6 separate regions of the Homo sapiens genome follow, and regions 2, 3, 4, 5 and 6 are each linked to region 1. Evidence: promoter capture Hi-C in 16 types of primary human blood cells and fetal thymus (Javierre and others, 2016). All regions are on one chromosome and are shown on one strand. Each heading gives the region's core, a stretch centred on a gene start or on the middle of the fragment in contact. The rest is flanking DNA. Distances are from core to core; before and after follow the strand shown. Region 1 holds the start of UNC119B (unc-119 lipid binding chaperone B). Region 2 overlaps RNF10 (ring finger protein 10). Region 3 overlaps RNF10 (ring finger protein 10). Region 4 has its middle 29 kb from the start of XLOC_009911. Region 5 overlaps XLOC_009911 (a long non-coding RNA gene). Region 6 overlaps SPPL3 (signal peptide peptidase like 3).

Region 1 (3,139 bases), core at 461-2,960:
ACAATGAGCAACAATCCCAAGCCCCCAGATAGGATCTGAGTGCCCACTGAGAATCCTGCTTAGGGCCAGGCACAGAATACCCTAACTCACTTGGATGGCAGGAGAGGGCATGAGGTTACCAAGACCAGGTGCTGAGCATCTGTACTTTCAGAGCCCCAAATGAAAACTGGTTCAGAAGAAAAGAAGCTTTTTCACACTGTTTCAATAAAACTAACAAGAATGTCTAAAGATACGTTCAGGTCTGGTAAGGACAGTCTCAACCCAAACAGTATTGGGAAACGGGGGCATCCAAATATCTAGAATCAAATTAAAACTCTTTTAGGAAATGGGAATTCCCTTTCGCACAGGGTGGACCAAGGCCTACTCCCCCCAAATTTCCATCCCCAAATTACTAGAGCTGCAATCGGCAACCTGAGGTGCACCTGAACAGCCCTGGGCTGCCTGCTATAGCAGCTCAGCAGACACCATGGCAGCCTTCGATCCATCCAGGGAATGTTGCTGCTGCCACAGGGTTAGGAGACTGCACGCCAGGAGTGATGGGCAGGCCAAGATAGGCCTAACTAGGTGAGTGCACACTCCTGCAGGGAAAACAGCAGCAAGAGAAAAGACGTCAAGTCAGGGACTGGCTTGGCAGAGAACAGAAAAAGGGAGATCACCCAGGGCAGGGACTGGGCAACATTTTTCTTCCCACCCATCCTCCTATCAACGAAAAAGCTTAGGATGGTTGCCTTTTGTGCAGGAAACGCATTTCTGAAACTCTGAAATCATTCTTAATTCACGAGAATGTCAAAAGCAGGATTCACATGTCGGAGTCTGTACACAAACTGAAACTTTATTTTTGTTTTAATGTGGCACAGTTTTAAATGAGCAGGAAATGCCACGGCTATGTGTTTTGAGGAAGAACCCATCTGCACACTAAGGGGCAACGCTCCCGACCCAAAGAGGGAGGGAGGCCGGGCAGGCTGCAATGGGGGAGGGCTGCCATGGGGCCAGGGCGGAGGAAGCAGGTAAGGCTTCTGGCCTGCCAGAGGGCTGGGGGAGCCTGGCTGAGCGGGAACTTCACTGATGGCCGGGGGTTCCAGGCTGAGGGCCCAGGGGCCCATTTATTAGGGGACCTCGGCCCCCGGCCGGCTCAGGAGGATCCAGTTCAGCTGAACGGGGCCCTCTACCCAAACAGGTCCGGCAGAGCTGGGGAGCCGACCGGCCGAAGGGCATCCTAGCGTGGCCGGACTCACAGGAATGCGGTCCAGCCCAGGAGAGTCCTTCCCCACCAGAGCTACGTGAGCGTGGCGGGAGCAAAGCCCGGCCGGCGGGGCAGCGGGAAGCGCGGCCCGGCCGGCCGAGGGGGTCTGGCGGGGACCCCCGCGCTGGTCAAGTGGCCGGGTCCGCTGAAGGCTCCGGGAGCCGGGGCACGGCGCGAGGGGAGGGCGCGGCCCGCGCGGCACTCACTCTCGGTGACCCGGCTGAGGCGCAGGACGTGCTCGGGCCGGATGGTGTCCAGCGCCAGCAGCTCCTGCTCCGTGACCGCTGCCCCGACGCCGTCGTCGGCCGCGTGGTGGGGCGCCTGCCGCCGCGCCTTCAGGCGGTTCAGGACGCCGCCGCCCGCCTTCTTCTTCTCCTCCTTGCCAGCCACCAGCCCCCCGGGCCCAGCCGCCGACGCCGCGGCCGCAGCCTTCGGGTTAGACCCGCTCATCGCTCCGCCGCCAAGATGGCCGCCGCCTCCACAGCGCGGTAACTATGGAGAGCGGGGGCGGGGCCCGGGGCCCGGCGGGGAAGGGGCGGGGAGGGGGCGGGGCGGGGGCGGGGGCGGGCGCCCGGGGGGCTGTGGAATTCCCTTTCGCACAGGGTGGACCAAGGCCCACTCTCCCCAAACTTCCATCCCCAAATAACTAGAGCTGCCATCAGCAACCTGAGGTGCACATGAGCAGCCCTGGGCTGACTCCTATAGCAATTCAGCGGACGACACCATGGCAGCCTTCGATCCATTCAGGGAATGCTGCTGCTGCCACAGGGTTAGGAGACCGCAGGCCAGGAGTGATGGGCAGGCCAAGATAGGCCTAACTGGGTGACTGCACACTCCTGCGGGGCCCGGGGGGCGGTGCTTCGGCTACTGCCCCAACTTTGGTCCTGCCAGGTGGAGGGCCTAGGGGTGGCTGGAGCTTCAGCAACCCCACTCCCCATCAGACCCCCAAGATCCTCCACGATGTTTAAATACATATCTTACGGTCAAATGAATTTACGTCATATAAACTTTCCTCCTCCTCATCCTCCTCCTGGTCTGAAAGAGCACACAGAATCTTCCGTGCACCATCTCGGCATTCTCAATCCAAGAGTTCTGTCACCAGTCCCAACAGCACAATGGCAACTAATTCCCAGTAATCACACCAAGAAGAAGAATGGCCAGTGTTTACTGCGCACTTGCTATATGGCAGGACACTTGCTATAGGGCAGGCTCCTCACCTCACAACAACCCTGTGAGGTATTACTGTCTCCATTTTACAGATCAGGAAGCTCAAGTTCAGAGAAGTCAGGTAACATGTCCAAAGTCCCTCAAGCAGTAAGAGGAGGGAACAGGGATTTTAATCCAGGTCCATCTGACCCAAGGCCTGTTCTTCAACACTAAGCTATTAGTGGACAATGCATCTTGAGAAAATGTTTATTAATATATTTAGCATAGAAGGTAAGTTAAAGCAGTGTTTGTTTTGCAAAGGCAGTTTCAAGACAAACTTTCCAATGAGATTGCCATCCGTAAGCCCTACTGTGCCAGGCCCTGGGCTAGACATTGGGCTAGGCTACAGGAGATGTAAGAGTGAGGGCAGGGATTGGGTCTGCCTCACCCCTGAATTCCCAGCAGTTCAGCTAATGCCTGACACGTGGTAGGTGCTCAGTAATGATTGAATGAGAGCCTGAACAGTATCCCACTATGGAAGAGCTCCCACTTTTGTTAGAGAAGACTGTAAAGTACACAATTCATTATGTGACCCTTCCTTTTCACAAGGTAGGTTAGTATGAACTGGAAGACAAACTAGATTCACTGACTGCACTAAGAGATGCAGCAAAGGTGCTAGGAGAACACACAGGAGTGGTTTATTCTGACCTGGCTGTAAAAGCTTGAGGGCTTCGGAAGTTTTCAGAGGCA
Region 2 (2,819 bases), core at 60-2,559, 170 kb after region 1:
AGAACAACTGCCAAGAACTACTGTCAAGACACATTCCAAAATGGACAAGACCACTAAACTCAGGCTCCAGAGTCGACAAATAAATGACTTAAAAACTTAACCCAGCTTCTCAGTTGTTCCACATTTCCCTAATGGAAAGGTCTCCACCAAGTAGCAGTAGGTATATCTCAGCCTCCCCCCATTACCAAATTAAGGGCCACAAGTTTTTCACAGTTAAATTACTTGGCATCTTCATTTCTAGCTCTAGTTCTAACAGGTGGCTCGGCCTAGAGGTCAGAATACCAGTCAGCAAGTTTCTGCTGCTGATTCATGCTGTAATCACAAGCAAGTTGCTTACCCATCATCCAGAGTAGTTGACAAGCACCTCCAGAGGGGCAACATATGGCCTTACTACAGAATCAACTGACAACAAATTGAATCCAGCTGAAATTAGTAATTCTGAATGAAAGGAAGAGAGAGGTGGTATCAGGAATGATGCACATGCCAGTAAGTTATCTGCTTGCTAAGTGTGATTATACAAAGCTTATTGAAAAATACCGCCTAGGACTTCATAAAAATTTACTTGGACAAATCACTCTTAACACTGCTAAGCCTCTATTTTCTTTTCTGTGAAACAGGACTAATATTCTACCATACTTCCTCATAGAATCATGAGGATTAAGAAAGAAAACTTCTGTAAAATGCCTACCATAGTGGCTGACACACAGTTTTACTATGATTTGAAAGCCTATCATTAATAAATCCAAAGCGTTCCTGTCAAGAGCACCCACTAGACTTCCAATGAAGCCATATAAACCAAGGAATCCAGCCAACGGGCCCTGAAATTCTTTTAATTTCTCTAAGTGGTTTTACTGAAGGCTTCAAATCACCTCAATTTTCAAAGCCATTAAAATCTCCAGGTCCATTTACAGCTCAGAGGCATTCTTCAAGGCAGATTACCACTAGTAACCTGGTTTCTGGTACCAGAATAACAGGAAGAATGCCAGGGCAGTGCTTCATACCACCAACCTCAAAATAACTGCCTCATAATACCTGACCTTCCCTTAACCTCCCTGGCAGTTCTATCGGCCCAGGGGGATGGGACAAGAGCCTGGTTCCTGGCCAGAGTCCACTGCCTGCCCATAAACGGCCTACCTTCTCTCTTGCCTCTCTTTCTTTGCTCCCTCTAAATGACTTTCCCCACTTTCTAACCCACCTTCTCTCCTCTGAGCTATATTCACAGGATATTTACTGCTGCATGTTCTCAGAAATACCTATTAACACTACTGGAATGAAGCTGTAGGAATATAATCAAGAAAAGGAATGTTATATAAATGTTCAGGCAATTAGCCCAGGCAAAGAAACTGTGGTATGCGACTCTAGCCGGAAAGATCAAGAAAATCCTGGTAGCCAAATTTACATATTTCCTGTGTACAAATGAAGGGCAAATTTAAGCCAGCCACTGGAACAAAATCTCAAAGAAATTAATCATGTAGCTAGGAAGCAAATGGCCATTAATGACAGTTTACAGAATAGAAACCAAAGGGCTTTCTTCCACGAGGTAGAAAAGGGGGAGAAAAAAAGTGACTTAAATATTTGAATACTGAAAACTCTTGCTCTTTTCACCTTGACAAAAGATAAACTATCTTTTCACCTTACGCTTGTTTTCCCCTCAACTCAGTACTCTGTAATTCAAGAGGTCCTTTCAATGATTCCCAGCAGAATCAAGTATATGAAGTGTTCAGCTTATGAGATACTGCAGAAATCTTTTTATGGGATTATGCGGAGCTTGAGTGTACCCTTTTGTTAGAGCAACCATCTCATCGTGAAGTCACTGCATCAGAGCTCCTGAGTATCTGCTGTAGTAGCACTGGTCTTAGCTGTTACGTTCCTAAGGCAGCTTAGTTTCAACTTTAAAAATCAGCCAATATCCAGTTTCCTAACCTTTTAATCTCCACATATCCTGCCTTTTAATTTGTTCCTAAATGCAAGCAGTGGATTATGGCTAGTGAAGAAGCATGGATTTGGCTACAAAGCCCATCCTTCCTTGCTAAACGAACACGCACAGCAGAAGCCAGAAAAGCAGACACTGGCGGTGGCAAACATGGTCAAGCTTTCTAACACACACATTAAACAAAAAAAAAAGAATGCTGCCTCAAGGCACATATGTGTTATTTGTAAAATCTAACAAAGGGCCTTTACATGAGTTTTTGTTTTTTTAGACGGGCTGGAGTGCAATGGTGCAATCTTGGCTTACTGCAACCTCCGCCTCCCGGTTTCAAGGGATTCTCCTGCCTCAGCCCCCCGAGTAGCTGGGATTACAGGTGCGCACCACCACGCCGGACTAATTTTTTGTACTTTTAGTAGAGACGGGGCTTCACCATGTTGGCCAGGCTGGTCTCAAACTCCTGAACTCAGATGATCCACCTGCCTCGGCCTCCCAAAGTGCTGGGATTACAGGCGTGAGCCACCGCACCCGGCCTACATGAGTTTTTACAGAAGTTTTCTTGTTTTGAGACGGGGTCTCACTCTGCCACCCAGGCTAGAGTGCAGTGGAGTGATCGTGGCTCACTGCAACCTCGAACTTCTGGGTTTAAGTGCTCTTCCTCCTCCCCTGCCTCAGCCTCTTCACAGCTGGGACTACAGGTGCGTGCCACCACGCCCGGCTCATTTATTTTTTTGTAGGACAGGGTCTCGAACTCCTGGGCTCAAGTAATCGGCCTGCCTCAGCCTCCCAAAGTGCTGGGATTATAGCCACCCAGCCCATTTGAAATGTTAACAATGACAAATACTTGCTTTGGTCAAACTACTATAGAATTCTGTATCATCTTGTTGGGTAA
Region 3 (2,994 bases), core at 435-2,934, 150 kb after region 1:
CTTAGAGGCCAGCAGCAACTTGGAGTACTGGCTGTGCTGTTCATCTATAAGAATGCCAGCAAGATCAAAGAAATGCAACATTCAAAGCTCACGATGGTGTAGCTAAATAGGAATTTTCAAATACAGCCTTTTCTCTGGGGTGAAAATGGGGTAATTTAGCATGATTTCCTAGAAAATAATTTAACAATGGTCTTAAAATAAGGTCTGTAGCTCTGCTCTTGATATAAGAAATCTAAGAAACCCAGAGATGTAGTCAAAACTTTAGTCACGCGTTTATTGTTACAGCATTGTATGTAATATCAGAAAAGCTCAAACCAGCCAGGCACCATGGCTCACACCTGTAATCCCAGCACTTTGGGAGGTCAAGGCGGGTGGATCACTTGAGATCAAGAGTTCGAGACCAGCCTGACCAACATGGTGAAACCCCGTCTCTACTAAAGATACAAAAAAGTTAGTCGGGCCTGGTAGGGCATGCCTGTAATCCCAGCTACTTGGGAGGCTGAGGCAGGAGAATCGCTTGAACCCAGGAGGCAGAGGTCGCAGTGAGCCAAGATCATGCCACTGCATTCCAGCTTGGGCAACAAAAGCGAAACTCTGTCTCAAAAAAAAAAAAAACAAAAAAAACCACACACAGAAAAAGAAAAGCTCAAACCAACCAGTAAAACCAACAATAAAGAATAAAGAAATGGTGGACCAGCGCAGTGGCTCACACCTATAATCCCAGTACTTTGAGAGGCCAAGACAGGAAGATTGCTTGAGTTTAGAAGTTTAAGACCAAGCCAGCTGGGTGTGGTGGCTCACGTTCAGCACTTTGGGAGGCTGAGGCAGGTGGATCACCTGAAGTTAGGAGTTCGAAACCAGCCTGGCCAACATAGAGATACCCTGTTTCTATTAAAAATACAAAAAATTAGCTGGGCGTGGTGACGGGCGCCTATAATCCCAGCTACTAGGGAGGCTGGAGTAAGAAAATCGCTTGAACCCAGGAGGCAGAGGTTTCAGTGAGCCAAGATCGCACCATTGCACTCCAGCCTGGGCAACAAGTGCAAAACTCTGCCTCAAAAAATAAAATTAAAAAAAAATAACACCAGGCGGAGTACGGTGGCTCACACCTGTAATCCCAGCACTTTGGGAGGCTGAGGTAGGCGGATCACAAGATCAAGAGATTGAGACCATGCTGGCCAACATGGTGAAACCCCGTCTCTACTAAAAATACAAAAACTAGCCAGGTGTGGTGGTGCGTGCCTGTAATCTCAGCTACTCAGGACGCTGAGGCAGGAGAATCTCTTGAACCTGGGAGGCGGAGATTGCAGTGAGCCGGGATTGCACCACTGCATTCCAGCCTGGCAACAGAGTGAGACTCCATCTCAAAACAAAAACAAAAACAAAAAAAGCACAACACACACACACAAAAAAAACAAAAATTAGCCGGGCGTGGTGGCAGGTGCCTGAAATGCCAGCTACTCAGGAAGCTGAGGAAGGAAAATCGTTTGAACCGAGGAGGTGGAGGTTGCAGTGAGCCGAGATCACACCATTGCACTCCAGCCTGGGAAACACAGCAAGACTCCGTCTCAAAAAAAAAAAAAAAAAAAAAAAGAGTAGTTCAAGACCAGCCTATCAACATAGCAAGACCTCATCTCTGCTAAAAATAAAAATAAAAAATTAACTATACCTGCATGCCCAGTTAATTTTTTAAAATAAAAAAAATAATTTAAAATTAAAAGTTAATTTAATTAATTAAATTAATTTTAATTATTTTAATGAATTTAATTAATTAAAAGTAATTATTGCCACTGCACTCCAGCCCAGGCGACAAAGTGAGATTCCATCTCAAATAAAGGGTTAATGACATGATGGTATGTTCATTAACGAAAATTCTGTGGACACTAAAAGTGGTTTTCTTGGCCGGTCACAGTGGCTCACGCCTGTAATCCCAGCACTTTGGGAGGTAAGGCGGGCAGATCACTTGAGCTCGGGAGTTCGAGACTAGCCTGCCAACATGGTGAAACCCCGTCTCTACTAAAAATACAAAAAAAATCAGCCAGGCATGGTGGCGGGCGCCTGTAGTCCCAGCTACTCGGGAGGCTGAGGCACGAGAATCGCTCAAACCCGGGAGGCAGAGGTTGCAGTGAGCCAAGATCATGCCACTGCACTCCAGCCTGGGTGACAGAGCCAGACTCTGTCTCAAAAAAAAATATATATATACATATTATATTATATATCTATAAATAAAATAAAAATAAAATTTATCAGTCTTTTACAGCATCTATCATTTCAGCCTGGTTCAAAAATCCACCCATATCTGAGGATTTTTTTTTAATTAATACACATTTTTAATGTTTTAAGTTGCTAAACATTTAAACAGTCAAAATCACTAGGAAAAAAATATTACACACACACATTTACCACCCAAATGAGAACACACAATCCTTCAGACAGATGCACATCTGAGGATTTATAAAGAAATTGTCCTATATTTTCTTTTAAATAAAAAGGTTAAAACTTTTGGATTTTTTACATTTACTTCTTCAATCTATCTGGAATTAATTTCATGAATGGTATGAAATAGGAATCTAATTTTATTTTTTCCTTAGGGAGAATCAATTGTTTCAATACCATTTATTGAGAAATCTATCTTTTCCCCAGAGACTGAAATGCTATTTTAATCAAATGCTCATTTCTGCATGAAACACAGGGAATACATCTCTGGCATTCATTGTGAGCACTTATCACACTCTTTATCCTAATGGCCAGTCTACCAGTCTGTCTCTTCTATCGGACTACTGAGTTTCTTGACGACAGGCACCAAGACTGGCTGACCACAGAACCTCTAAGATTGGGCACAGTGAAAGACACTATGTAATAAAACCTTGTAAAATGAAAAATTAGGATGTATAGATTAAACAAACTTGAAACCAATAATTAATCTACTCTCTACAAACCCCACCCTAACCTACTGGAATCCTATGACTAATATGAACATGCCAGATGTGCCCT
Region 4 (2,996 bases), core at 405-2,904, 220 kb before region 1:
CATTCCTTGGCTCACATTCCCTTCATCGATCACTACAACCTCTTGTTTCCATCGTCAAATCTGCTACCGCTCACTCTGGTGTGCCCACCTCTTCCAAGGACCTGTGTGATTATATTGGGCTAGATAATCCAGGATAATCTCCTCATCTCAAAAATATTAATTTGATGCATCTACAAAGTCTCCTTTCCTATAATCATAGGTTCTAGAGTTCTAGAGATTAGGACATGGACATCTTTTTTTTTTTTTTGAGACAGAGTTTTGCTCTTGTTGCGCAGGCTGGAGTGCAATGGCGCGATCTTGGCTCAACGCAACCTCCACCTCACGGGTTCAAGAAATTCTCCTGCCTCAGCTTCCTGAGTAGCTGGGATTACAGGCATGTGCCACCACGGCCAGCTGATTTTGTATTTTTAGTAGAGAGGGGGTTTCTCCATGTTGGTCAGGCTGGTCTTGAACTCCCAACCTCAGGTGATCCCGCCACCTTGGCTTCCCAAAGTGCTGGGATTACAGGTGTGAGCCTGCTCCCGGCAGGACCTGGACATCTTTTAGGGGTTATTATTCAGCCTACCACACACTTACCAGATTTAAAATTCTATGATGTACACTTACCTACAGTATCTCATTTAGATACTTATGAGGTGTTATCATTCCTATTTAATGAATGAGAACGCAGGTCTAGAAAGCTTCATTGCTTAGCCACAGTCATATAGTCAAAGAACTAGAAACTCAAACCGGAGTATATGGCCCTAGAGACCATGTAACAGCACTACACACCACTTCTCCTCCACCAGGCTGCCTGTAAATCACGGGCCTTTGGCCTCTCATTTTCTTGTACAACTCAAAAAAAAAAAAAAAGAAGAGGAAGAAGAAGAGGAAGAGGAGGAGGAGGAGGAGGAGTAGGCGGTGGCAGCGCCATGGCTCAAGCCTGTAATCCCAGCACTTTGGGAGGCCAAGGCAGGAGGATTGCTTGACCCCAGGGGTTTGAGACCAGCCTGGGCAACATGACGAGACTTTGTCTCTACTAAAAACAAAAACAAAAAAAACTTGGCTGGATGCAGTGGCACATGCCTGTAGTTCAACTAGTTGGGAGGCTGAGGCAAGAGGATTGCTTGAGCTCAGAAATTCAAGGCTGCAGTGAGCTATGATTGTACCACATCACTGCACTCCAGCCTGGGTGACAGAGCAAGACCCTGTCTCTCTGACAGAGGAGAGAGAGAGAAAGAGAGAGAGAGAAGGAATGAATTGACCTAAGAAGGAAAATGGCTGAATTCGGGATATATTTTGGATGTGGGTTACTTAGGGGACACAGTGGGGCAGGAATTGGTCCTATGTGAGTCCCTGCATCCCTCAAGTGTGCCACTGGAAGAAAAGCAGAAGGAGCAGCAAGTATGGAGCCCATGTCAGGGTGTCACCAGCTCCCCAGTGTGAGCCACTCACAGAACGCAAAGGCCATGCAGTGCTGGGATTCAGAAAGTATCAGATTTCAAGGCCTGTGTGTCCTTGGGTGAGTAGCTTGGCCTCTCTGGGCCTCTGGATGGACTGGGGGCAGCGAGTCTATAAAGCCCTGAGCTGCCTTTCCTGCATTCTCAGCACATTATTGGAACCTGAGTGCATCGTGACAGCCCGGTGTGCTGACAGCTGGCAGAGTCCACACGCCTCTTCTACGCGTGGCTTCAGTGTCCTCTCATAAACCTGACCCTGCCCGGTCAACCCCAGCTCTAAAAAGAACTGTCCAGCCCTAAGTTAGGACAGCATTTTCTCCTCTGTGACTTCACTTCCGTTGCACCCTTTTTTTTTTTTTTTTTTTGAGACAATCTTGCTCTGTTGCCTAGGCTGGAGTGCAGTGGCATGATCTCTGCTCACTGCAATCTCCACTTCCCAGGTTAAAGCAATTCTTATGCCTCAGCCTCCCGAGTAGTTTGGACTACAGCTGCATGCTGCCACCACGCCCGGCTAATTTTTTTTTTTTTTTTTTTTTTGAGGTGGAGTTTCGCTCTTGTTGCCCAGGCTGGAGTGCAATGGCACCACCTCGGCTCACCGAAAGCTCTGCCTCCTGGGTTCAAGCGATTCTCCTGCCTCAGCCTCCCAAGTAGCTGGGATTACAGGCATGTGCCACCATGCCCAGCTAATTTTGTATTTTTTTAGTAGAGATGGGGTTTCTCCATGTTGGTCAGGCTGGTCTCAAACTCCCGACCTCAGGTGATCCGCCCACCTCGGCCTCCCAAGGTGCTGGGATTACAGGCGTGAGCGACCGAGCCTGGCCTAATTTTTTGTGTTTTTAGTAGAGGAAGGTTTTCATCACGTTGCCCAGGCTGGCCTTGAACTCCTCAGTCCAGGCAATCTGCCCTCTTCGGCTTCCCAAAGTGCTGGGATTACAGGCGTGAGCCACCACGCCAGCCCCTTTATAGCATTGTTTTATTTTCATTTCTCCCCTGTGTTCTCTCCCAGCTTTAGCCATCCTTTAGGATGTTCCTCCATCTTCCACCCTCCACTTCCACCAAGGTGCCTCATTCCTGGTCGCCATGCCTCACATTCCTCTCCCTTCTCATGAGTCCTGAAGCACTTTACAGTTCGATTAGAAAACCAGAGTCAGGAGGTCTGGATTTGACATGTGGCTTGACCACAAGCTTTCTGTGTGACGTTGGGCAAGTCATGAGCCTGCTCTGAGGCTCAGTTTCTTTATTCCGATATTGAAAGACAAGAGGGTCAGATACTTGCCCTCACCAAGCTGGATCATTTCGATTAAATATCTAGGGTGGATGTGGTGGCTCACGCCTGTAATCCCAGCACTTTGGGAGGCTGAGGCAGGCGGATCACGAGGTCAGGAGATCGAGACCATCCTGGCTAACATGGTGAAACCCCATCTCTACTAAACATACAAAAAATTAGCCAGGTGTGGTGGCGGGCGCCTGTAGTCCCAGCTACTCGGGCGGCTGAGGCTGGAGAATGGCGTGAACCCGGGAGGCGGAGCTTGCAGTGAGCCGAGATCGCACCACTGC
Region 5 (3,177 bases), core at 636-3,135, 200 kb before region 1:
AAAATCAGTAAGGACATAGAATATCTGAACAACATTATCAGCCACCTTGAATTAGTTGACTATTATAGAACACCGCACCCCGAAATAATAGAATTCTTCTAAAGTGCACCTGGAATAGTCACTGCAATAAACCATATGTTGGCTATAAACAAGTTCCAATAAGCTTCAGAAGACTGAAATCTTACAGAATATATTCTCTGACCACAACAGAATTCAATTAACATCAACAACAAAGAAGATATCCAGGAAAGCCCCAAGTATTTGGAAATTAAACAAGATTCTTCCAAAAAATACATAGTATCCATGGTATACCCAAATAAATTGAAAACATGTCCACATGAAACCTGCACACAAACCTTGAGAGCTGCTTTATTCATACTTGCCAAAAGTTGGAAGCAACCAAAGTGTCCTTCAATAGGTGAAGGGATAAACGAACTCTGGTACATTCATACAATGGAATATTATTCAGCAATAAAAAGAAATGAGCTATCAAGCCACGAAAAGACATGGAAAAATATCAAAAGTATACTGCTACGTGAAAAGCCAGCCTGAAAAGGCTACACGCTGTATGATTCCAATGATAGGACATTCTGGAATAGGCAAAACTATGCAGACAGTAAAAAGATCCGTGGTTGCCAGAATTTGATGGGGAGGGAGGGATGAATAGGCAGAGGGTGGGAGATTTCTGGGGCTGTGAAACTATTCCGTATGACATTATAATGGTGGTTACATACCATAGTGTATTTGTCAAAGCCCGTAGACTATACAACATGAAGAGTAAAACCTAATCTCATTATTGGCTCATCAACTGTAACAAATGTACTTACACTAATATACCATGTGATTAATAGGGGAGATTTACTGGAGGGAGAGGCCTATATGGGAACTCTCTGTACTTTCCCATCAATTTTTCTGTAAGCCTGAAACTTCTCTAAAAAACGTTTTCTGAAAACCCATGTTCAAAGAATGCAAGTGACCCTGTGTCTGATAAGCTCACCATATACCTTACTTCTGATCTGTCTTCCCGTATCTCTCTCCCCTTAAGAACTCTCACTCTTAGTCAAGGAGGGAGTTACAGAGGACAGAAGTGGGTGTTGAGTATGACATCAGGCAAAACAAGTTGTTCTGGATCCTGGCTTGCCTTCCCCTTCACTCAAACATTCATTCTACAGACACTGAGCTTCTATTCTGGGCTAATCTCTCTGCTGGGCACACAGGATATAACTGGCAGCCAGTTACAATCCCTTCCCAAGAAGCATTCACAAGCTAAGGGAGAAACTGACAAGTAAACAGTCGATGACAGTTCATTATGCCAAGTGTCATGTGGGTAAATTCAGAGGACAATGAGAATGCAGAGAAGTATCTAACCCAGCCTAGGTTTTGGTCAAGTGAGATTTCCTGGAGGATGTGACATTGCAGTCAAGCCCCGAAAACTATAAGCAGCAGTTAAGAGGCAATGGGAGGCCGGGCGCTGCGGCCCACACCTGTAATTCCAGCGCTTTGGGAGGCAAAGATGGGTGGATCACTTGAGATCAGGAGTTTGAGACCAGCCTGGCCAACATGGCCAAAGTCGTCTCCACTAAAAATACAAAAAAAAATTAGCTGGGCATGGTAGTGGTGGGCAACTGTAATCCCAGCTACTCGGGAGGCTGAAGCAGGAGAATCACTTGAACCCAGGAGGCGAAAGTTGCAGTGAGCTGAGATGGCGCCACTGCACACCAGCCTCGGCGACAGAGTGATACTTTGTCTAAAAAAAAAAAAAAAAAGAAAGACCCAATGGGAAACCTCCTGGACTTGATCAGAGGATTGGAAGCAAAAAAGAACACAGCCCGTGGGGAAGCTACAAGCAGGTCACTATGGAATATAAACAAAGTGCACATGCATGTGTGTGGGGGCGAGGGGTGGATGACAGAGGGGAGAAATGGCCTGGAGGGACTGGTAGAGCCAGGTCAGACCTAAGCCTTGATGTTCTCAGAAACAATGCTTAAGCAGCCCAGACAGACCTTGTAATGCCAGCTTCCTGGAGTCTGTGCCTAAAGCAGAGGACCCATCCTGGGGGAGACTCCCCAAGTCTCTTTTGAACACACTTGGTGGAAGAAGCTATCCTATAATTACTGTGGTGATAATTAGAGGCACCTGCATGGCCTCTTTCTTTCTTTTTTTTTTTTTGAGACGGCGTTTCGGAGTTTCGCTCTTGTTGCTCAGGCTGGAGTGCAGTGGCACGATCTCGGCTCACCGCAACCTCCGCCTCCCGGGTTCAAGCGATTCTCCTGCCTCAGCCTCCCGAGTAGCTGGGATTGCAGGCATGTGCCACTACCACCCGGCTAATTTTTGTATTTTTAGTAGGGATGGGGTTTCTCCATGTTGGCCAGGCTGGTCTTGAACTCCCGACCTCAGGTGATCTGCCCGCCTAGGCCTCCCAGTGTGCTGGGATTACAGGCATGAGCCACCGCACCCAGCCTCCATGGCTTCTTTCAGCAAATATTGCACAAGCTGTAGCGCTCTCACCTGCAGTGGGGTGCAGAGAGACAAAGCACCCCTCCTGGGGGAGCCTAATGCCTGAGTCTCTTGTGAAGCACACCTGACTCCCTGGCTGAGGCCCAAAGGTGTCACAGATACACCTGGGGCTGCTATAGCTTGGAGCTGAGTGCTGCTGGCAGGGAGACTAAAAGTCACTCCCAGTCGGGTGCGGTGGCTGACGCCTATAATCCTAGCACTTTGGGAGACCAAGGTGGGCAGATTGCCTGAGCTCAGGAGTTCGAGACCATCCTGGCCAACATGGTGAAACCCCGTCTCTACTAAAAATACGAAAAATAGCTGGGCATGGTGGTGGGTGCCTGTAATCCGAGCTGCTTGGGAGGCTGAGTCAGTAGAATGGCTTGAACCCAGGAGGTGGAGGTTTCAGTGAGCTGAGATTGCGCCACTGCACTCCAGCCGTGTGACAGAGCAAGACTCTGTCTCAAAATAAAATTAAAATTAAAAAGTCACTCCCCAGATGCCACAGTCTGGGCAGCTCCCAGGCAAGCCACAGGCTTCAGATTTATTCCAACCTTGCCCTCTGGGGAGACTTCAAGCCTGTAGAGATGTTGACTAGGATCTAGAGGTGCTGTCTACTTCTCGGCAACCTTAGCCTGAGATGCTCAAGCCATTAGTCTCTGGGCCCACACTTCATCTTCC
Region 6 (3,006 bases), core at 197-2,696, 170 kb before region 1:
AGATTGTTTTTGTATGTGTGTTTATGAAAGTAATGTTAAAATGGTAAATAGTGTTTTGTTATATGCTTTTTAAAATTAAATATATCTTGAATGTCTTTTGATACCATTTAATATATAATCAGTTTTTGTGGATACATAGGAGACCACTGTATTCAATCTCTCTAGTTTTTATTATATCACTTTTATTCCTGATCTTCCAGTTGCCCTGTCTCAAGAAAGCTTATAACCAGTTTTCTTTCTATCTTTCTAGAAATGTGTGCATGAAAACACATGTGTATACAAAGTCCTATGCAGTACCCCTGTTATATTGCAGTAAAATACACATAGCATAAAATTGACCATTTTAAGTGTCACTGAACTCAGTGGCATTAAGTACATGCACATTATTGTGCAACCTTCACCACCATCCATTTCCAGAACTTTTTAATCTTCCCAGATTGACACTGTATACAGTAGTCCCCTCTTATCCACATCCCAAGACTCCCAGTGGATACCTTGAAACTGCCGATAGTACTGAACCCTGTATATACTGTTTATTCAATCTGATAACCAAGATGGTTATCAAATGTCAAACTGGTGGGTAGGGGTAGTGTATGTATATAGCATGAAGATGGTAGACAGAGGGATGAGTGACATCCCAGGCAGGAGGGAGCAGGATGGCATGAGACTTCATCATACTACTCAGAATGGTCCACACTTTAAAACTTACGACTTTTTTCTGGAAATTTCCATTTAATATTTTCAGACCACGGTTGACTGCATGGAAGGTGAAACCATAGATAAGTTTAATCGGAACTACTGTACCCATTAAACTTTTAACTCCTCATTCCCCTCTCTCCCCACACCCTGGCAACCTTTGTTCTCCTTTCTGTCTCTGTGAATTTGACTATGCTAGGTACCTCATATAAATGGAATCTAACAATATTTTGTTTCTTTTTTTTTTTGTTATTGGCTTTTTCACTTAGAGTAATGCCCCCCGAGCTTCATCTATATTTAGCGTGTGTCAGAATTTTCTTCCTTTTAAAGGCTGGATAATACTTGACTGTATGGGTAAGACCACATTTTGTGTATCTGTTCATTTGTTGATGGGCAGTAGTTGCTTCCACCTTTTAGTTACTATGAGTAATACAATGAATATTGGTGTACAAATATCTGTTCGAGACCCTGCTTTCAGTTCTTTTGGATATAAACCTAGAAGTGGGATTGCTCAATCTCGTATGGCAATTCAACATTTAATTTTTTTCCTTCTCTTCTCTTCTCTTTTTTTTTTTTTTTTTTTGAGGCAGTCTCACTCTTTTGCCCAGGCTGGAGTTCTGTGGCGCTGTCTTGGCTCACTGCAACCTCTGCCTCCTGGTTCAAGTGATTCTCCTGCCTCAGCCTCCCAAGTAGCTGGGATTACAGGCACACACCAACACGCCCAGCTAATTTTTGTATTTTTAGTAGCAACAGGGTTTCACCATGTTGGTTAGGCTAGTCTTGAATTCCTGACCTCAGATGATCCTCCCGCCTCGGCCTCCCAAAGTGCTGGGATTACAGGCGGGAGCCACCGCACCTGGGCAACATTTTAATTTTTTGAGGATCCACCATTACCATTTTCCATAGTGACTGCCAAATTTTACATTCCCACCAGCAATGTATAAGGGTTTCAGTTTTTCCACATCCTTGCCAACACTAGTTGAATTTTGTGTGTGTGTGTGTTTTCTTTCAATAGCCATCCTAATGGGTATGAAGTGGTATCTCATTGTGATTTTGATTTATATTTCTCTAGTGATTAGTGATGCTGAGCATCTGTTCACGTTTATTGACCATTTGTGTATCTTTGGAGTAGTGTTTATTCACGTCCTTTGTCCATTTTTTTTTTTGGCTGGGTTGATTGTTGTTGAGCTGTAGTTATTAGTATATTCTGGATATCAATCCCTTATCAGTTATATGATTTGCAAATAATTTTTTTTTCCCCCGAGACGGAGTCTCTCTCTGTCGCCCAGGCTAGAGTGCAGTGGTGTGATCTCGGCTCACTGCAACCTCTGCCTTCCGGGTTCAAGCGATTCTCCTGCCTCAGCCTCCCGAGTAGCTGGGACTGGAGGCACGTGCCACCATGCTCAGCTAATTTTTTGTATTTTTAGTAGAGATGGGTTTCACCGTGTTAGCCAGGATGGTCTCCATCTCCTGACCTCATGATCTGCACACTTCAGCCTCCCAAAGTGCTGGGATTACAGGTATGAGCTACCACACCCGGCCGATTTGCAAATAATTTCTCCCATTATGTAGGTTGTCTTTTGATTTTGTTAATAGTGGCCTTTGGTGCACAAGTTTTTACTTTTGATAAGGTTCAATTTTTCTGTCTTTTGTTGTGTGTTCTCTGGTGTCACATCCATGAAATCTGCCAAATCCAATGTCATGAAGCCCTTCTCTTTTTTCTTCTAAGGGTTTTTAGTTTTAGCTCTTATTTGTATGTTTTTGATCCATTTTTGAGACTATTTTTGTATAATAGTAAAGGTCCAACTTCATTCTTTTGTGTAATTCATTTTTAATAGGATAGTAGTGTACCATATACGCTGAGATTCGTTATCTGGCTTTTTTCACTCAATAATGTGTCTCAGCCCCAGTGTTTTTTTTTCATCCTGTCCTCCAGTAGCCTGTTGAGTGGTGTGAGTCAATATGTAGGAAAGCTTTTGAACATGGCTCCCTTCACTAACAGTTAAAATTAAAAGAAAATCAAGTAGGATTGTTAAACCGAGGAATGAAAAGTGAAAAAAAAAAAAAGATAAAAGCAGGGAACAGAGGTGGAGTATGGGAATTCCAAGTATCACCAACTTCTGCTTTTAGGGCAGATTGCAACTTTATTGAAAATTTGTGAGGCACATTGTTAAACTCTGTATATATATGTAAGTTTTTTAAATCCACATTTGACTGCATGTGTATATATATAACTTTTACCTTTAAATCAGTCCCCTGAAATGTAGGTGGTGTTTTTCCCATTTTACAGATGAAAAACTGATTACTTAC

The links. Contacts are between HindIII fragments. The CHiCAGO score rates a contact against its expected background, and 5 or more counts as called.
Region 2: a contact is called between a fragment that was not itself captured here and the fragment with the promoter of UNC119B in region 1, in 1 of 17 cell types (M1 macrophages). The highest score is 5.8, in M1 macrophages.
Region 3: a fragment that was not itself captured here is called in contact with the fragment with the promoter of UNC119B in region 1 in 3 of 17 cell types (M1 macrophages, M2 macrophages and megakaryocytes); the score reaches 7.1 in M1 macrophages.
Region 4: a contact is called between a fragment that was not itself captured here and the fragment with the promoter of UNC119B in region 1, in 1 of 17 cell types (endothelial precursors). The highest score is 6.2, in endothelial precursors.
Region 5: a contact is called between a fragment that was not itself captured here and the fragment with the promoter of UNC119B in region 1, in 1 of 17 cell types (endothelial precursors). The highest score is 6.0, in endothelial precursors.
Region 6: a fragment that was not itself captured here is called in contact with the fragment with the promoter of UNC119B in region 1 in 1 of 17 cell types (endothelial precursors); the score reaches 5.8 in endothelial precursors.

What each region holds. Positions count from the first base shown.
Region 1 is chr12:120,709,029-120,712,167 of GRCh38, reverse strand. UNC119B (unc-119 lipid binding chaperone B) reads right to left here and starts at 1,710. Exons shown (of 5, transcript NM_001080533.3): 1 at 1,450-1,710. The coding sequence starts at 1,693. LOC124903036 (a long non-coding RNA gene) reads left to right here and starts at 1,662. Exons shown (of 2, transcript XR_007063491.1): 1 at 1,662-1,731; 2 at 1,894-2,235. RefSeq lists silencers at 1,401-1,670, 1,761-1,820 and an enhancer at 951-1,793. The HindIII fragment of the contact is 2,396 bases long and covers 717-3,112 here.
Region 2 is chr12:120,536,987-120,539,805 of GRCh38, reverse strand. The region is part of intron 1 of RNF10 (ring finger protein 10); the gene reads right to left. Among named protein-coding and RNA genes, the nearest start is that of RNF10, 4.0 kb to the right of the region's middle. The HindIII fragment of the contact is 1,570 bases long and covers 525-2,094 here.
Region 3 is chr12:120,557,776-120,560,769 of GRCh38, reverse strand. RNF10 (ring finger protein 10) reads right to left here. Exons shown (of 17, transcript NM_014868.5): 7 at 1-44. Among named protein-coding and RNA genes, the nearest start is that of POP5, 22 kb to the left of the region's middle. The HindIII fragment of the contact is 5,059 bases long and covers 1-2,994 here.
Region 4 is chr12:120,931,831-120,934,826 of GRCh38, reverse strand. No RefSeq gene overlaps it. Among named protein-coding and RNA genes, the nearest start is that of XLOC_009911, 29 kb to the right of the region's middle. The HindIII fragment of the contact is 1,944 bases long and covers 683-2,626 here.
Region 5 is chr12:120,907,771-120,910,947 of GRCh38, reverse strand. XLOC_009911 (a long non-coding RNA gene) reads right to left here. Exons shown (of 2, transcript NR_131215.1): 2 at 2,874-3,177. Among named protein-coding and RNA genes, the nearest start is that of XLOC_009911, 4.7 kb to the right of the region's middle. RefSeq lists an enhancer at 783-902. The HindIII fragment of the contact is 3,439 bases long and covers 166-3,177 here.
Region 6 is chr12:120,879,739-120,882,744 of GRCh38, reverse strand. The region is part of intron 1 of SPPL3 (signal peptide peptidase like 3); the gene reads left to right. Among named protein-coding and RNA genes, the nearest start is that of SPPL3, 23 kb to the left of the region's middle. The HindIII fragment of the contact is 2,450 bases long and covers 222-2,671 here.